Linked DNA regions of Homo sapiens: region 1 is linked to region 2. Evidence: promoter capture Hi-C in 16 types of primary human blood cells and fetal thymus (Javierre and others, 2016). All regions are on one chromosome and are shown on one strand. The core of a region is centred on a gene start or on the middle of the fragment in contact, and the rest is flanking DNA. Distances in the headings are between cores, read along the strand shown.

What was found. The method cuts DNA at HindIII sites, captures the fragments that hold promoters and counts their contacts. A CHiCAGO score of 5 or more calls a contact.
Region 1: a contact is called between a fragment that was not itself captured here and the fragment with the promoter of COG7 in region 2, in 1 of 17 cell types (naive CD8 T cells). The highest score is 5.1, in naive CD8 T cells.

Annotation. Positions count from the first base shown.
Region 1 is chr16:24,533,344-24,536,043 of GRCh38, reverse strand. No RefSeq gene overlaps it. Among named protein-coding and RNA genes, the nearest start is that of RBBP6, 4.9 kb to the left of the region's middle. The HindIII fragment of the contact is 5,139 bases long and covers 1-2,700 here.
Region 2 is chr16:23,451,823-23,454,566 of GRCh38, reverse strand. COG7 (component of oligomeric golgi complex 7) reads left to right here and starts at 1,378. Exons shown (of 17, transcript NM_153603.4): 1 at 1,378-1,741. The coding sequence starts at 1,573. It overlaps LOC124903667 (a long non-coding RNA gene), which reads right to left and starts at 1,824. Exons shown (of 2, transcript XR_007065030.1): 1 at 1,302-1,824. RefSeq lists enhancers at 1,049-1,098, 1,389-1,718. The HindIII fragment of the contact is 18,303 bases long and covers 1-2,744 here.

The DNA of each region.
Region 1 (2,700 bases), core at 158-2,657, 1.1 Mb before region 2:
GTGGGAGGATAGCTTGAGCCGGGGAGTTTGAGGCAGCAGTGAGCTATGATCGTGCCACTGCACTCCAGCCTAAGCAACAAAGGGAGAACCTGTCTCCAAACAAACAAACAAAAGTCCATTGACCTTTCTCCCTTTATGGTTTTTGCTTTTGCTTTGAGAAATGGCTTGTAGCCCACTCAGCACTCACCTTAGATATTTTTTTGCTATATTTCCTTCCAGTTTATATATAGCTTCATGATTTTAAACTCCATAATCAATCTGATTTTTTTTGGTATATAGGGTATAATATAGAATGAAGATCACTGTATTCCCTTTTTCATTGTGAAGTATATTGTTAATAAAGAGTCCATGAGTGGTGGCTCACACCTGTAATCTTAGCACTTTGGGAGGCCAAGGTGGGAGTATCACTTGAGCCCAGGAGTTTGAGACCAGCCTGGGCAATATGGCGAAAACCCATCTCTACAAAAAATTAATAACTTAATCAGGCATGGTGTCGCATGCCTATGGTACCAGCTACTCAGAAGACTGAGGTGGGAGGATTGCTTGAGCCTGGGAGGTTGAGGCTACAATGAGCTGTGATTGTGCCACTGCACTCCAGCCTGGGTGACAGAGTGAGACCCTGTATCAAAAAATAAATAAATAAATAAATAAATAGAAAAGGGACAAAATATATATCTCGCTCTGTTGTCCAGGCTGGAGTACAGTGAGACAATCTCGGCTCACTGCAACCTCCACCTCCCGGGTTCAAGCGATTCTCTTGCCTCAGCCTCTCGAGTCACTGGGATTACAGTTCAGCACCACGCCGGACTAATTTTTGTATTTTTGGTAGAGACGGGGTTTCACCACTTTGGCCAGGCTGGTCTCAAACTCCTGACCTCAAGTGATCCACCTGCCTCGGCCTCCCAAAGTGCTGGGATTACAGGCGTGAGTCACCGTGCCCAGCCTTATTTTAATTTTTTTTAATGTTTATTTTTTGTCGGTACATAATATACTCTTTTTTAGAGCAGTTTCAGGTTCACAGAAAAATTGAGTGGAAAGTATAGGGTTCCCATATGCCCCTCTCCCCTCATACAGTTTCCACTATTGTTAACATTTTGCATTGATGTCATATATTTGTTAGGATTGATGAGTCAGTATTGATACATTATTAACTAAAGTCCACAGTTCATATTAGGGGTTACCTTTTGTGTTGTGCATTCTGTGGATTTTGGCAAATGTATAGTGACATATAAAAATTCCCCTGTGTCCTTCTTAGTCATCCCTCCTTCCTGTTGCTGACAAAGGGATCCCCATCCAGACCTCAAGATAAGGTTCTTGGATCTGGCACAGGAAAGAATTAAGGATGAGTCTCAGAGTACAGTGAGAAGAGATAGTGTATTGAAAGCTACTTCATTGCAGAGTAGGGCATCCTCAGAAAGCAACAGGACGAATGCACTGTCTTTATTTTAAACTCTTCTAATATAGGGTCTTATCTATGTAAAAGCTAAGCTGTGTCTATGTGCTAGTAGGCTGGCAGCATAACAAATTTATTACCTTGTTGATTTAAAGAAAATTATCCTTGGCATTTTAGTGCGTAAGTATATCAAAAAGCATGACTATAATGGTTGTAAAATCATATATTGTTATGAGAGATCGGGACATCTGGACATTTTGTTGTTGGAGGAGTTTGTCCTTGCAGGCATTACTAAGCTGTTTCTTCAGTTGTAAACATCTTATGACCATGAGCCGTGACCAGCAGGGAATGTGCCTTGCTAGTTTTAAGATGGAGTCTGTTTTAAAATGGTGACACTGGCCGGGCACAGTGGCTCACGCCTGTAATCGCAGCACTTTGGGAGGCCGAGGCAGGTGGATCACCTGAGGTCAGGAGTTAAGACCAGCCTGGCCAACATGGTGAAACCCCATCTCTACGAAAAATACAAAAATTAGCTGGGCATGGTGGTATGGACCTGTAATCCCAGCTACTCAGGAGGCTGAAGCAGGAGAATCACTTGAATCTGGGAGGCAGAAGTTGCAGTGAGCTGGGATCGTGCCATTGCACTCCAGCCTGGGTGACAAGGGTGAAACTCTGTCTCAATAAATAAATAAATAAATAAATAAGGTGTTACCCTGGCTCTCCTATGCTACTGTTTCCCCAACCCTCCCTTCCACCCCAGACCCCAAGCAATCATTGATTTCTTTACTGTCTCCATAGTTTTGCCTTTTCTAGAATGTCATATAGTTGGAATCATAGATGAAGTCATACAGCCTTTTCAGATTGGAGTAGTTCACACTTATGGATAAGCAGCAAGAACATAAGAAACCTCTATGTACCCTTTACTCAGATTCAGCAATTGTTTACCTTTTTTTCCCATTTTGGTTTTTTTTTCCTTTTTTTTTTTTTTTAGAGGCAAAATCTTGCTCTGTCACCCCAGCTGGAGTGCAATGGCACTATCATAGCTCAGTGCAGTCTTGACCTCCTGGGCTCAAGCAATCCTCCCACTTCAGCCTCTCGAGTAGCTGGGACTACAGGCTCCAGCCACCACACCCAGGTAATTTTTTTTTTTTTTTTTTTTTTTTTTTTTGTAGAGATGGGATCTCACTATGCAGCCCAGGCTGGTTTCAAACTCCTGGGCTCAAGTGATCCTCCCCCATCAGCCTCCAAAAGTGCTGGGTTTACAGCCATGAGCCACCGTGCCCCGTCTTGTCCCAGTCCTTTTTTTG
Region 2 (2,744 bases), core at 129-2,628:
CCAGAAGAATGAGACAAACCAAGGGAGATGCCAATGAAAAACGAGTGACTATCAGGCCTGGAGATGGCAGCCAGCCACTCATACCCCAATGGCAGGCCAACCTGGAAAACTGTCCCCTGTAGGGTTTCCAAGGATGACATCTTGTCCTCCCCCTTGGGTTGGTCCCACTCTTGAAACAACATAAAAACTTAGAACCTAAAGAATACCCTCATACCTTCCCCTACCTTTTCTTCTTTTCTTTTCGAGACAGGGTCTCGCTCTGTCACCCAGGCTGGAGTGCAGTGGCGTGATCACAGCTCACTGCAGCCTCGACCTCCTGGGCTCAGGCAATCCTCTCACCCCAGCCTCTCGAGTAGCTGAGACTACAGGTGTGCGCCACCACACTCAGCTAATTTTTAATTTTTTTGCAGAGACGGGGTCTTCCTATGTTGCCCAGGCTGAGAAATTGTTTGTGATTATGGGTTATGCACAGATTTCTCAGCCGCAACACCAAAAGCATGATCCATAAAAAAAGGTGATAAGGAACTTAACAAACTTTAAAAGGTCTGCACCTCAAAACACATCATTAAGAAAATAATTAGTTAGGCCAGGCGCGGTGACTCACGCCTGTGATCCCAACACTTTGGGAGGCCGAGGCAGGCGGATCACCTGAGGTTGGGAGTTTGAGGCCAGCCTGGCCAGCGTGGTGAAACCCCATCTCTACTAATAATACAAAAAGTAGCCGGGCGTGGTGGCACGCGCCTGTAATCCCAGCTACTCGGGAGGCTGAGGCAAGACACTCGCTTGAACCTGGGAGGCGGAGGTTGCAGTGAGCCGAGATCGCGTCACTTCGCTCCAACCTGGGCGACAGAGCAAGACTCCGTCTCAGAAAAAAATAAAGAAAGAAAGAAAAAGAAAGAAATAGCCGGGCGTGTTGTCGCGCGCCTGTAGTCCCAGCTACTCTGGAGGCTGAGGTGGGAGGATCGCTGGAGCCCAGAAATTTGAGGCTGCAGTGAGCTGAGATCGTTCAATTGCCCAGGAATTTGAGGCTGTAGTGAGCAGAGATCGTTCAATTGCACTCCATTGCTGCCCACTGCGCTCCACTGTTGCCCAGGCTGTCCTAGAACTCCTGGCCTCAAGCGATTCTCCCGCGTCAGCTTCCTAAAGAGCTGGGATTACAGGCGCGAGCCACCGCGTAAATGCGCTAATGTATGTCAGGGCTTTATAGTAAGCATATAGTTTAGTCCTCGGCAAATGTTAGCAGACATGGGATATTTGTCGGTGCCGGGAGCTCTCAGTCCGGGGCGTTTTCCCACACCCACCTCTGCTCAGCGCTCCGGACGCCTGCAGTCACTATGGTAACGGCCAACGACTTCCGGAAGAAGAACGGCGGGCGGCGAGGGTCATTCCCAGCCGCAAACTGAGTGCGCTGAGCGGGGAAGCGCAAAGGGGCAAGTTACCCGTCCTGGCGTTTCTGGGGTTCGCCTCGGAGGCTAGCCTCGGTGCTCTCGCAGGCTCGCTCGCTTCTGCATCCCCGTTGCCGCCCGGAGCCAACTCTTAAGTTCTGGACGCCAGGCCTGAGGCAGTTCCGCCATGGACTTCTCCAAGTTCCTGGCAGACGACTTCGACGTGAAGGAGTGGATCAATGCGGCCTTCAGGGCCGGCTCCAAGGAGGCGGCGTCCGGGAAGGCGGATGGCCACGCAGCCACCCTGGTGATGAAGCTGCAGCTGTTCATCCAAGAGGTGAACCACGCCGTGGAGGGTGAGCCGCTCGGGGCCCTGGCCGCGGGACCCTCCCCTGCTCTCGGCTGGGCAGAGGTCACCGAACTTGCGTGAGGCACTCAGGTGGGCGGGGCACGCATGGACAGCAAATACCCTCGGCAAAAGAGCAAGCCCCGAACTCCTGATCACGTCAGCGGGAGTCTCAGCTGGGTGCCGGGCTGTCTTGAACACTTGCTAATTTTGGGTGTTGTTTTTCCTCCTCTGGCTGGGCTATAAGTTTCCTTTTTCTTTTCTTTCTTTCTCTTTGTTTTTTCTTTTGAAACAGGGTCTCTCTACAGTGGCTCGATCATAGCTCACTGCAGCCTCGAACTCCTGCACTCAAGCGATCCTCTCGCCTCTCGAGTCGCTAGGACTACAGGCGCGAGCCACCGCGCCCCACAAATTCTGTTTAAAAAAAAAATTGTAGAGATGGGATCTCACTGTGTTGCCAGGCTGGTCTCAAATTCAAATTCCTGGGCATAATGGGTTTTCCAGTCTTGGCCTCCCAAAGTACTGTGATTATACCTGTGAGCCACCACATCTGGCCTGAAGTTTCCTTTTGGAACTTAAAAGAGTGGATCTTATTGCAGTAGCTCTTCTCTAAATAATTCAATAGCAGATCTCTGGGATTCCCTTTTTATTATTATCCATAGGCACTGGAAGACAAGATGGATCTTTTTAAATGCTAGAAGTTTTAACCAGTTCTTAACATGTCTTTGTTGAGGCACCTTCCAGAATATAAGATAAAACAACTCCAGTTTCTGTTATAGTGACTTGAATCTCAGAGTCAAGAGCCCAGTGTCAAAGAAAATTGGCTTTGACTTTTTGTAATCTAGGAGCACGAGTCTGTGAGGTGTTTATTCAAAGAGTTAAAGAGCCTGTTTTGTACCAAACAATAAACTGTAAAAAGAAAAAAAAAGTGAATTTTGAGAGTATGAAAGAATAGCCAACAGATCCATATATCTGGAAAAAACGTATTATAGTATAGGTATAAGAGAATGACA